Linked DNA regions of Homo sapiens: all the other regions are linked to region 1. The links are contacts of gene promoters, found by promoter capture Hi-C in blood cells and fetal thymus (Javierre and others, 2016). All regions are on one chromosome and are shown on one strand. The core of a region is centred on a gene start or on the middle of the fragment in contact, and the rest is flanking DNA. Distances in the headings are between cores, read along the strand shown.

Region 1 (3,549 bases), core at 626-3,125:
AAGCAGCTTATTCAAAAAGATTTTTTCTTTTTTTTGAGACGGAGTCTTCCTCCGTGGCTCAGGCTGGAGTACAGTGGTGCGATCTCGGCTCACTACAACATCCACCTCCTGGGTTCAAGCGATTCTTCTGCCTCAGCCTCCCGAGTAGCTGGGATTACAGGTGTGTGCCACCACGTCCGGCTAATTTTTGTATTTTTAGTAGAGACCAGGTTTCACCACCTTGGCCAGGCTGGTCTTGAAGTACTCCTGACCTCAAGTGATCGCCCACCTCGGCCTCCCAATATTGAATAATTCAATATTGAATTATTCAATATTCAACATGCAGTTCAATGATTCAATATTAAATCCCCAATTGCCTAGATATCTTTTGTTGATTCTCCCAGCAAGGCAAATAATTATTGATGGTAATTTTCTCATGTACCTCCTGAAGAAGCCTTCTCTCCCACTCGCCTTTCTGCCACTAAAATAGATTTAAAAACACAAAACAAAACTGGTCAAAGCCTTGAGTTATGTGTGTATACGTGGTGTGGGGGATTCCCCAACTGGAGTGGACTGGGGAGTCCTGCAGGCTTACCCAAGGGAAGACTGGACTTCTATGTGGCTGGTTTCCACATCACTGAACCCCAACTTTCTACAGCTGGGTCGGCCTCTTCCTTCCTCTTTCACCTGTCAGCTGCCCGGCCGTTGACTAACAGCTACCCTAATCGGGCCACCCCTCCTCCAGGTCTCCAATCCCAGAGGAGTTACCCCAGCAACCTGGCAATGCTCATCAAGTCTCAACGCGTGGTGGCTGTGCCAGAGAATTACTACAACACCTGCAAGGCTGTGCGGGCTCCTGGCCGCACCCTATCGGCCGGGAAGAACAAGCGAGGGAGTTCCTACTCCAGGACCGTGGGGTTCTCCCGCGGCTCTGACAGTCCCCAGGAGGGAGCCCCAAACTCCCGGTGCCAGCTGCAGCCGCCTCGCTTTCCGAGAAGCTTTCGGAAGCTTTTCGAAGTCGGAGAAGCAACTGCCCCGGGGCTCACCTTTGCGCTGAAGAGGTGCCGGGAGTCTCGGGGAAAAGGCACCGCTGTACAGAAAGGAAACATTGTAGGGGGGTTAGCCGACCGGCAACATCGCGACGAACCCGGCGACCCCACGCCCCAACACCCTAGCCCGGGAATTCCCCCTTCTTCAGACAGATACCCACCCCGCACCCTCTTTTAATCCGGGGCAGGAGGTATCCGTCCCTGGGGCACCCGCCCACCTCCCACCACGGCGAGGGGCGCTGCACAGGGGGAAAGGGAGGGCTTGCACCCCAACCAAGCTGCTTTGTGCAACGCTGTCACCCGAAATCCGCCACGGCCCCCACGCACGCCCCCGGAGTGGGGAGCCTCCCACCTCTGAGCGCCAGCGAGGCGGTGCGCGCCGCCCTGGACTGCGGGCGCCTCTCCGGAGCCGCGCGCCGCGCGCACAGGACGGCTGCAGCCGCGCCGCGAGCCCCAGCCTCTTCTCGGCCGCCGCCGCCGCCGCCGCTTCCGCCCCTGTCACGGCGTGACCCGGGGTGGGAGGAGCCGACAGGACTAGGGATGGGTAGGGTCCCCGCCTTCGCTTTAGCCGCAGCGCTCGCTCCGCCCTGCCCATTTCCGCCGCTGCGCAAACCCCGGCGCTTGGGGAAGTGGGTGGAGTCTGTGCAACGAGGTACGGGGCGGGAGTGGAGACGGGGCGCCGGGAGAGGGGGCGGGAACTGAGGCGGGGCGCGGGAAAGAGGCGGGGCGCGGGAAAGAGGCGGGGCGCGGGCGGAGGCGGGGCGCGGGCGGAGGCGGGGCGCGGGCGGAGGCGGGGCGCGGAGAAGTGGCGGAGGTGGAAGCGGAGGCGTACCCGCCCCTGGGGACGTCATTGGTGGCGGAGGCAATGGCCGGCAACCAGCTGTAAGCGAGGTAGGCTCACTCGGGCGCGGAGGGTGCGGGTGAGAAAGGGAACGATTTGCTAGGAGTGTATGCGCCCGTGCTAGGGCTCCCAGGAATTCTTACAAGCGTAGACAGCCTAGCAATCAGCCCTGTGAAGTGGGGTTCAGGGCAGAAGCGGAAACTGGGAATAACGAGGTCGGACAGTAAATGACCTGAATCCAATGTCCAGGATTTAAAGTGCTTCCAAAGCACTGGTGTGTTTTAATTATTTTTTTTTCTTTTTTCTTTTAGAGACAGGGTCTCCCTCTGTCGCCCATGCTAGCGTGCAGTGGCACAATCATAGCTCACTGTAACCTGGAACTCCTGGGCTCAAGTGATCTTCCCGCCCCAGCCTCCTCGGTAACTGGGACTACAGGCTCGCTGCACCACGCTTGGCTAATTTTTCAAATTTTTTTTTATAGAAACGGACTCTCGGTTTTTTCCCCAGCCTGGTGTATTAGTGATTTTTGGGAAAAAATAAGTACTGCCAAATAGTGAGTGATCCCTGGTGATGTGGGAAACTGGGGTGCTGTAAATATTCTGTCTTGCTCTGCGGTGGTTACACAGGTGTATGTATATGTAAAAAATTCACCGAGTCATACTCTTTTAAGATGTGTGCACCTTAGGAAAGTTTCTTCTCAATTTTATGAAATTTAAAAACAAAACTATAGCAGAAGCTTTTGAAAAGGTGAGAATGGAGACTAGAACAACTTGAGGACTTTGTTTGTGGGCAGAAATTTTTGTGAAATTTCCCTTCCTTAATTCTTGTAATGTGCACTTTTTTTGTATTATAGAAATAAACTTTATTTCTCTAGAAATGATGTATACAAGTGGAGTCCATGCTGAGAAACTGTTAGAACAGCTAAGACGTTGAGCCCAGGAGTTTGAGACCAGCCTGGGTAACATAGCAAGACCCTGTCTCTACAAAATATTTAAAAATTAGCCAGGCATGGTGGTGCACCCTTATAGTCCCAGGTACTCAGGAGGTTGAAGTGAGAGGATCGCTTGAGCCCCAGTGTTGGAGACGGAAGTGTCATTACACCACTGCACTCCAGCCTGGGGGATAGAGAGAGACCCTGTCTCAAAAACAAACAACTAAGACATGATTAAGTTATGTGCATGATTTTGTTAGACAGTTCAAGTTTGTGTGAAAGGAATAGAGTTGTGCTACTCCAGGCTGCTGTGGAACTCTGATAAAGATTATGCTTCTCTTTTAAGTAGAGAACTGCTTTATGAAGCCTTGAATTTAGGTTCCAGAGTTTCTGAATGAAAATGAGAAAACTGCAACATTCTTTTGCTTTTCTGTACCCAATATAAATCAGATACTTTCTACTGACCTCTCAGAAAACTCAGAGTCACCTCCTGATACCATCAGGGTCTTGCAGAAGCCATTTGTCAACAAATATTTGCTAAGAAGTGAATTCATGTTCCCAGGTAATGAGAGAAATGCCTCCTCCCTATATCCTAAGCATACTGAGGCCAAATTTGGCAACAAAAGGGGAAATTTGCCTGAAATACATGCTTTTATGCAATGTTTGCTATTTCACAGATTAATCATTAAATTAGAACCACCAATAATAGCATGCTAGTATAATCCAAACTAGTTTCACTAATGATTTAA
Region 2 (3,919 bases), core at 306-2,805, about 13 Mb after region 1:
CTTGAGTAGCTGGGATTACAGGCATGCGCCACCACACCCTGTTAATTTTTGTATTTTTAGTAGAAAGCGTTTCACCATGTTGGCCAGGGTGGTCTTGAACTCCTGACCTCAGGCGATCTGCTCGCCTCGGCCTCCCAAATTGCTGGGACTACAGGCGTGAGCCACAGCACTCAGCCAGATTACCGATGTTTTTAGTGGCAGATGACTTTCCGGCCTTGTCTTAGTTTTAATTTTTTTTTTTGAGATGGGGTCTTACTATATTGTCCAGGGTGGTCGTGAACTTCTGAGTTCAAGTGATCCTCCCACCTCAGCCTCCCAAAGTGCTGGGACTACAGGCGTGAGCCACTGTGCTCGGCCAGATTACTGATGTTTATAATGGCAGATGACTTTCCAGCCTTGTCTTAGTTTTATTTTTATTTTTGGAGATGGGGTCTCACTATATTGCCCAGGCTGGTCTTGAACTCCTAAGCTCAAGTGATCCTCCCACCTCAGCCTCCCAAAGTGCTGGGATTACAGGCATGACCCACTGTGACTGGCTTAGTTTTAAATTCTTAATTATTTACCTTGTAAACTACTTAATTCCATTTCTTCCACATCTCATAGAAAAACTGATGTTCCAGGAAGATGTATCACCAATATTCTGCTGTTTTGTATCCTGCCAGTGCAGAATTGGGGCTGTGCCTCTCTAGTTTGAGAAGCATGTAGTAACATACTTGATTTTGCCCTGATCAGTAACGTACCGCATGCTGGGAGCCGCAGTCTCTTAACCGCTCCAAGCCCGTGACAGAAAAACGAAATGGAAAAATGACTTAGGAGAATTATCACTATTAACCCCCAGAAACAACACATTATTAAAAGCGGTTCTGAAGGGCTATTTAAAAGGGAACTCAATAGTAGTTTCAAAGGAGTCCTATTGTAAGGCAAAAATTGTGCTTTACCTTCCCGCACAACCTTCCCTAATGTTTTGGGAAGGACTGATACAAACTTTTAGTCCTGTTGGCCTGTGTTAATAATGGCCAAGAGGTCCCCAATGGGTAACAGAGTCCTGTGAACCAAACAGTGTGAGAAGTCAGAAAGCAGCTGGGTGTGGCCCCCAAAGCAGCTTAGGGGGTTACTTAACTGTGCGGCTACATTTCTTGACCATATACTAAAGGAACTGGGCCTTTCCATGCGATGTTTTCCTTTTATAACGGTGGCAGGAAGCGGTCCCTCTGAGGGGCCTGACCGAGGTATGCGCCGGCGCCAGGCTGGGGTCCAAGGGGCGCTCCGAGGCGGGGCCCACAGAGAGGGTTTAGGGCAATTCCAAGGGATGGCGGGGACGGAGGAAAAGTGGCGTTGAAAAGGCAAGAGCCAGGTTCCCAGCCACTGGGACAGTGAATTTACAGCTTCAGACATCCACCAAAGAGCGGCTGCGTGGGCTCCTAAGAAGTCTAAGAACTGCTCAGAAATCCAGCGCCGCCATCCCCACTCCACCGCCGCCAGGGGCGCACAGCAGCGGGTATGCGGCCGGAGGGAAGGGGCGGGGCGGGAGGAAGGGGCGGGGCGTGCCCCGCCAGCGGAGGCCGGGAGGACCAGGAACCCAGGAGAGCATGGCCACGCTGCGCCGGCTTCGGGAGGCGCCGCGGCACTTACTGGTTTGCGAGAAATCCAACTTCGGCAACCACAAGTCGCGCCACCGGCATCTTGTGCAGACGCACTACTATAACTACAGGGTGAGTCCGGCTGTCCTCGGCTTTTCGGGCCGTGCTCAGTCCCCGCGTGCGAGAGAGGTTTGGGGAGAGTGCTAGGCTTCGCGGGGCGGGGCCGCCGGCGGTACGCGGAGGGGCGGGGCCCTCGCCCGGCTTGCTGGGAGTTGTAGTCTCTTAACTGCTCTAAGCCAGTGGCTTGCAGGGCTACAGGACTACAACTCCCAGGATGCGCCGGGCGTGGGGGCGGTACCCAGTCTGGAGGGAGCTGTTGTCAGGGGCGTTCTGGCTGCTCACTCGTGTCAACCCGCCGAACTGGGAGTGAGTCCAGGGAGGGATTCGAGGTTCAGGGCCGGGACCAGGGAGTTAGGCTGTGGGGCAGCCACGTGCACCTCGCTTTTTCCCCAAATCAGGGCGGGTCTCGCGCCTCCTCCCCACCACTGCCTCCTCCCCAGCTTGAATCCCTCTCCCACCTGCGTACCTGTGGATCTCACCAGAGCATCCTGCCTAGGCTCGGCCCAGGAAGCGACTGATTTTCCTTTTTTTTTTTTTTTTTTTTTTAGACGGAGTTTCGCTCTGTCGCCCAGGCTGGAGTGCAGTGGCGCGATCTCGGCTCACTGCAGGCTCCGCCTCCCGGGTTCACGCCATTCTCCTGCCTCAGCCTCCCGTGTAGCTGGGTCTACAGGCGCGCGCCACCACGCCCGGCTAATTTTTGTATTTTTAGTAGAGACGAGGTTTCACCGTGTTAGCCAGGATGGTCTCGATCTCCTGACCTCGTGATCCGCCCGTCTCGGCCTCCCAAAGTGCTGGGATTACAGGCGTGAGCCACCGCGCCCGGCCGAAGCGACTGATTTTCTAAATTGGTTGTTGGAACTAATTTGATATCTGAGAGACTTCAAGAAACTAACCTTATCATGGGGGATTAAACATTTTACACTTTAAATGGATCAGCTTAATAACTCAGGTTTGACTGAGCAGTGTTTCAGAGATGTTAAGTGGTGACCTGATCAGTCAGAACAGGCTGGTGTTTGAGCCTTGGGACAGTGATGACTTTTACAATGTGGCAACATTTGAAGCCTGCCCTGTTTTTAACACCTATTTTGGATGTCAAGCTCATCACAGCAGTCAGGGATGTATACTTTAACTCGCCTGTTGCATTTTTCTGTCTCGAAAATGAAAACATACAGGAGCACCATTGCTTGCACATAGATTCTTAGTAATTGGATGTCCATAAATTAATTCCTTATGCCCCGACAGATAGTTTGTTTCATTCCAGGATAACACCAGGGTAAACAAATCAAGGGATATTCAATTATACTATATTTCCTTGAAAATAAAATAGTGAAAGGAACAGGACATAAAATATACAGCATTGCTAATTTGCAAAAGATTAAATGCAAGCACGAGTTTTCCATTAAAAGTATTCTGTTCAATCCCCTTCCTGTACTGTACGTTTGAATGCAGAAATGAAAAACTTAAGTAGTCAGATTTCTCTTTGCCTGAGATAGGTAAGTTAACATAAGAGTTTTGTTGCCCGTGTTTTTATGTTCCAGTGAAACTCGTGGAGAAATAACAACTTTCATGATTTTGTTTCATTCCTAAAAACCTGGGTGTTCATCTTCATGGAAGTAAGACCTTGTTTGTATTACACATTCCAATAGGTTTCATTTCTCATTCCTGAATGTGGGATACTATCGGAAGAACTGAAAAACCTGGTCATGAACACTGGACCCTATTACTTTGTGAAGAATTTACCTCTTCATGAATTAATTACACCTGAATTCATCAGTACCTTTATAAAGAAAGGTAAGAAAAACCTGAAATGGCTGTGAACAAGGCTGGATGAGGAAGGGTAGGGAGACCACATCACGATGCTAGGGCTGTTGTTTTGTTTCAAACAGGGCCTGTGGTATAGTCTGTGTGGTCAGGTGCACACGCGTTCTCCCCCGCATTCTCATCCTGTTCTTTCTTGTACCCTCTTTAGGTGGTGGTTTCTGATTGCAATTGGCCACAAGTGTTGGATGGGGATGTTGTAACATGACAGTATCCGTCCCCTTAAAATGAGGATTAATGGAGAGGAGAGACTTGCAGTCTGTGTTCAGATGCACTGCTGTTGAAGATGTGGCTGCAAAGACACTATGCTGTCAGCAGTCCCACAGCAGCTGTCTCAGAGGGTTGGTCTCCCGATACAGCCACAGCTACTGTTCACAGAGCAAAGTGCTTGTTGGGGTCCA
Region 3 (3,906 bases), core at 1-2,500, about 16 Mb after region 1:
CCCGTATATTTCACAGACATTTCTAGCTTATAGCATGTTCCTCTCAATGGAAGTGTTCCCTCTCCTCAGCTTCAGGGTCTCTTCATCACTCAGAGGCACCATCAGATGTTTGTTGAGCCATTCTCCTCATAGAACGCAGAGGAGAGGCCAGGTGTGAAACCAGACCAGTCTATCTATAGCTAAGAAATATTCCTAACGGACCTCGAGGAGCGCGAGAGGGAGGTTTTAAATGTAATCCTGAGCTTTTCTGATTTTGGGGTTCCAGGTCTGCTATACATACTCTTGCACGTTATATTGGGCACAGCCCTAGTAACTCTGTGATTTGAAATGATGATCTGAAGTTATCGATTAGGGAGAGGAATGTGGACAGAGAAGCAGAGCAACGGAGACCGGGAAGTTTCCGTCTGTGTCCTGGATTGCAGCCAACTGCTTAGGCACACACACCTGCTGCCCTCCCGGCTCTGAGTCACCTCCTCTCCTCTCCCTGTCCAACGAGCAGCTGCCAAATGGCAGCCAAATCCAACAGATGTAAGCCGGGACCCCACCTGTGTTTGAATTACTTTCTTTGAAATCTGCCACGTCCAGGTTTATTGACCCGGGCAGTCTTTTCAACATTTCCTTATGCCGCATACGGGTGGGGCTAGGGACTTTCTTGTGCACTGGCAGTCCTCAGAAGAGAAAACTTTGAATTCAGCTATTTGGAACCTCGTTACTGGTTCCGAGCCTCAGGAAAGGCCAGAAGAGCGAGAGCCAGCCTAGTTAGTCACTCCCACATCTGTGACCCCCGTTTACGGGCCTTGTACGCTACTGCCCTTCAGGTACCATAAACCGGGCTTCTCAAAGGGCACTGCAACAGGTTTCCAGGAATTATTTATCAAAGTCCATGACCCCGGCCCTGTGACCCCTGGGTTTGAAAATTCAGACCTTCAGCCTAACGGAGAGGTCGGCTCAGCGTTCCTCCCAGCATCCTCGGGCGATATTAGGGTCCTGGGAGATTCGGGAGGCCACTGCGTCCAGGCCCCCCACGGCCAGCCAGGCGAGAGGCGGGACGCGAAGCCGCGGCCTCCTTCCTCTTCCCTGAGGCGGTGGCGGCGGCAGGCCCCGCCCCTCCCGCGCGGTGGCCGTCGGCGGAGGGGCGGGGCCTGCTACAGCGTCGCCGGCTGACGCGAATGACGCTGCGCCAGTCAGGCCGCAGCCCCGCTGCTTGGCCCGTCGGGCCCGCCTTGGCCGGCTCGGCCCGCCCCCGGCCCTCCCTGCACGGCCTCCCGTGCGCCCCTGTCAGACTGTGGCGGCCGGTCGCGCGGTGCGCTCTCCCTCCCTGCCCGCAGCCTGGAGAGGCGCTTCGTGCTGCACACCCCCGCGTTCCTGCCGGCACCGCGCCTGCCCTCTGCCGCGCTCCGCCCTGCCGCCGACCGCACGCCCGCCGCGGGACATGGCACACGCACCGGCACGCTGCCCCAGCGCCCGGGGCTCCGGGGACGGCGAGATGGGCAAGCCCAGGAACGTGGCGCTCATCACCGGTATCACAGGCCAGGTGAGTGCGGGGGCGGGGGCGCGCCGGCCGAGGCAGCCTGGGCACGCGTGCTCTCCCTACGCGCCGCTACTCGTGGGCTGCGGTCTCTCCAGGAACAGCCCTCTCGGCGTCCCGGAAGGGGTCTGCTGCCGGGAGGTGGGACGGAAGGTACGGTGCAGTTAGTGTGTTGCGTGTGGGGTGTGCGGGATACATCGAGCGCCTCTGGTCTTTCTCTGGGGGCTGTGAGCGTGTGTGCCGCGCGGGATGTCGCGCTCACACCCGGGCAGGACCGCCCGCTCTCACCTGCCCCTCAGGTGACCGCAGCGTCTCTTCCTCCAAGCCCATGTCGTGCTTCGCAGCTCCTAGTGCCGGAAAGGGAAAAGAACCGGTGATCAATGAACTTGCGGGTGAGGTCTTCTTGATGTGTCTCGGCTCAAGGGGCGCTTACCTGCTAACGTTTGGGAAGCAAGAAAAAGGGTGCTTTGCTGGTTTCGTCCCCTATCACCGGATTTCCAGATAGAAAAGAGAACATGAAAGAAAGTAATGCTGTGGAGTCACCTACTAGGACATGTTTAGGAAAAAGAACTTAAAAAACTTTTTAAAATCACGCCAACTTCTGAGATTCAGGTTGACACATTTGGAAGTGTATCCGAGGCACACTGGTCCAAAAGTGCGGCTAGTTCCATTTTCAAAGGAATAAGTTCGTCGAGTAAGGTAATCAAGAGGAGGTCTTCGGAATGTCTCAGGCTAAGCATGGCTGGTTTGTGAGGGTCGCCTCTTAGAGGTGTTGCAGTAGGTGGGATCCGACCGCTGTGTCTTACCAAGCTGTGCTGTTTTAGATTCAGTGGTCATGAAGTAATCGTGCCCACATATTGCTGTAGAAAGAATGTGATGTGTGTGCTCCTGGGTATCTCTGGGTGGTGGCCAATATAACACTGAGATAAAGGTGATAATGGCTAATACATATTGTGTCTATCATGTTCCAGTCGCTTGCCTAACATTAACTCATTTAGTTCTCATAACAAACTCTTTGAGGAGGTACTTTTATTATCTCTATATATGTGGAAACTGAGGCATGGGAGTTTGATTTGCCTGAGGTTAAACCGCTGGGAAGTGTCCAGTTGGTATTGAAACCACTCTCAAAGTTCTCTAGTGTTAGAAAGGGCTAAGTGGGCAGGAGGCAGCGGCTCATACTTGAAATCTCAGCACTTCGGTGTGCAGAGGTGGAAGGATTGCTCGAGGTGAGGCCAGGAGTTTGAGACCAGCCTGGGCAACATATTGAGACGTTGTCTCTACAAAAAAATTTAAAAAATGAGGCAGGCATGTTGGTGCTCACCTGTAGTGCTAGCTACTCAGGAGGCTGAGGCAGGAGGATCACTTGAGTCCGGGAGTCTGAGGCTGCTGCAGTGAGCAATGATGGTACCACTGTACTCCAGCCTGGGGCAAGAGAGTGAGATCCTGCCTCAAAAAAAAAAAAAAAAAAAAAAAAAAAAAAAAAGAAGGAGAAGTTGAAATTGGCCAGATGCACAGTCACAGAATATTACACAATTTCAAGTATTGAATACCTGATTTACTGCTGGTTATTCATGCATCTTGCTTTGCTTAAGGTAATCATAATAGACAAGAGTTTGAAAACTAGTAAGAGGTGGATCTGAGTTTGAAAACTAGTAAGAGGGCAAGGATCTGAGGTTGAGAAATTGAATCCTTGAATTGAGGCAGTAAGACAGGTCAGGGCCTACATACTGTCCTCCCCCTTCTCTTTGTTTTCTAATGCTGGGACCTTTCTGCAGATGATTCCCTTTTTTCCATTTTGTCAGACTGGACCTGAAGCTCAAATGTTTACCAAGTTTACCTAATCTCTGGAAAGTAGAGATTTTATTTTAGTATTGTCCGGAAATTAGTTAAGATTAACATCTTAACTAATGTGCTGTGTTGGTGTGGCCTATACCAATTTACACGACCAGCAGTATGAATCAGTGCAGATTAGAAATGGAACCTAATTTTGACTTTTAAGAGCAGTCATTTGGCTGGAACTGAGTGGCCAGGAAGGTATGGAAGTGGGCCCCCACTCTAGTTTGTCCTGCAGCCTGTCATGGGAGTCTACCTGAAGCACCACACTCAGCAGACCACTCCCTGACTGGAATTTTTTGGTTCCTCATTTCATTTCCAACTTAAAACACCTGCATGGCTTTCAGGTTGGGTTGAATCTCTGCCCCAGTGTTTCTTTCTTCCCTCCGGCATCTGCCCTCTGCATTGTCTCCTCATTTGGTGTTGCATTGGCTTCTGTACCCCTAGCATAGTGCTGAATTCTGTAGCTACCACATAAACACTTGCAGATGGAATTTACTGCTCTTTTATGTTTTTTATTTGTATTCCAGGACAGTGACTCCCAA

The links. Contacts are between HindIII fragments. The CHiCAGO score rates a contact against its expected background, and 5 or more counts as called.
Region 2: a contact is called between the fragment with the promoter of RPP40 here and the fragment with the promoter of TPMT in region 1, in 4 of 17 cell types (total CD8 T cells, naive CD8 T cells, total CD4 T cells and 1 more). The highest score is 10.6, in total CD8 T cells.
Region 3: the fragment with the promoter of GMDS here is called in contact with the fragment with the promoter of TPMT in region 1 in 1 of 17 cell types (non-activated CD4 T cells); the score reaches 6.2 in non-activated CD4 T cells.

What each region holds. Positions count from the first base shown.
Region 1 is chr6:18,153,403-18,156,951 of GRCh38, reverse strand. TPMT (thiopurine S-methyltransferase) reads left to right here and starts at 1,875. Exons shown (of 9, transcript NM_000367.5): 1 at 1,875-1,919. It overlaps KDM1B (lysine demethylase 1B), which reads right to left and starts at 1,530. Exons shown (of 22, transcript NM_001364614.2): 1 at 1,381-1,530; 2 at 1,026-1,069. RefSeq lists an enhancer at 590-829 and a silencer at 1,270-1,829. The HindIII fragment of the contact is 1,618 bases long and covers 990-2,607 here.
Region 2 is chr6:5,001,673-5,005,591 of GRCh38, reverse strand. RPP40 (ribonuclease P/MRP subunit p40) reads left to right here and starts at 1,555. Exons shown (of 8, transcript NM_006638.4): 1 at 1,555-1,712; 2 at 3,347-3,491. The coding sequence starts at 1,590. It overlaps LYRM4-AS1 (LYRM4 antisense RNA 1), which reads right to left and starts at 1,776. Exons shown (of 4, transcript NR_126015.1): 1 at 1,633-1,776. RefSeq lists silencers at 1,445-1,574, 1,705-1,954. The HindIII fragment of the contact is 5,117 bases long and covers 1-3,919 here.
Region 3 is chr6:2,242,949-2,246,854 of GRCh38, reverse strand. GMDS (GDP-mannose 4,6-dehydratase) reads left to right here and starts at 1,250. Exons shown (of 11, transcript NM_001500.4): 1 at 1,250-1,534. The coding sequence starts at 1,433. It overlaps GMDS-DT (GMDS divergent transcript), which reads right to left and starts at 1,102. Exons shown (of 7, transcript NR_046229.1): 1 at 925-1,102. RefSeq lists a silencer at 978-1,607 and an enhancer at 1,108-1,608. The HindIII fragment of the contact is 5,746 bases long and covers 1-3,906 here.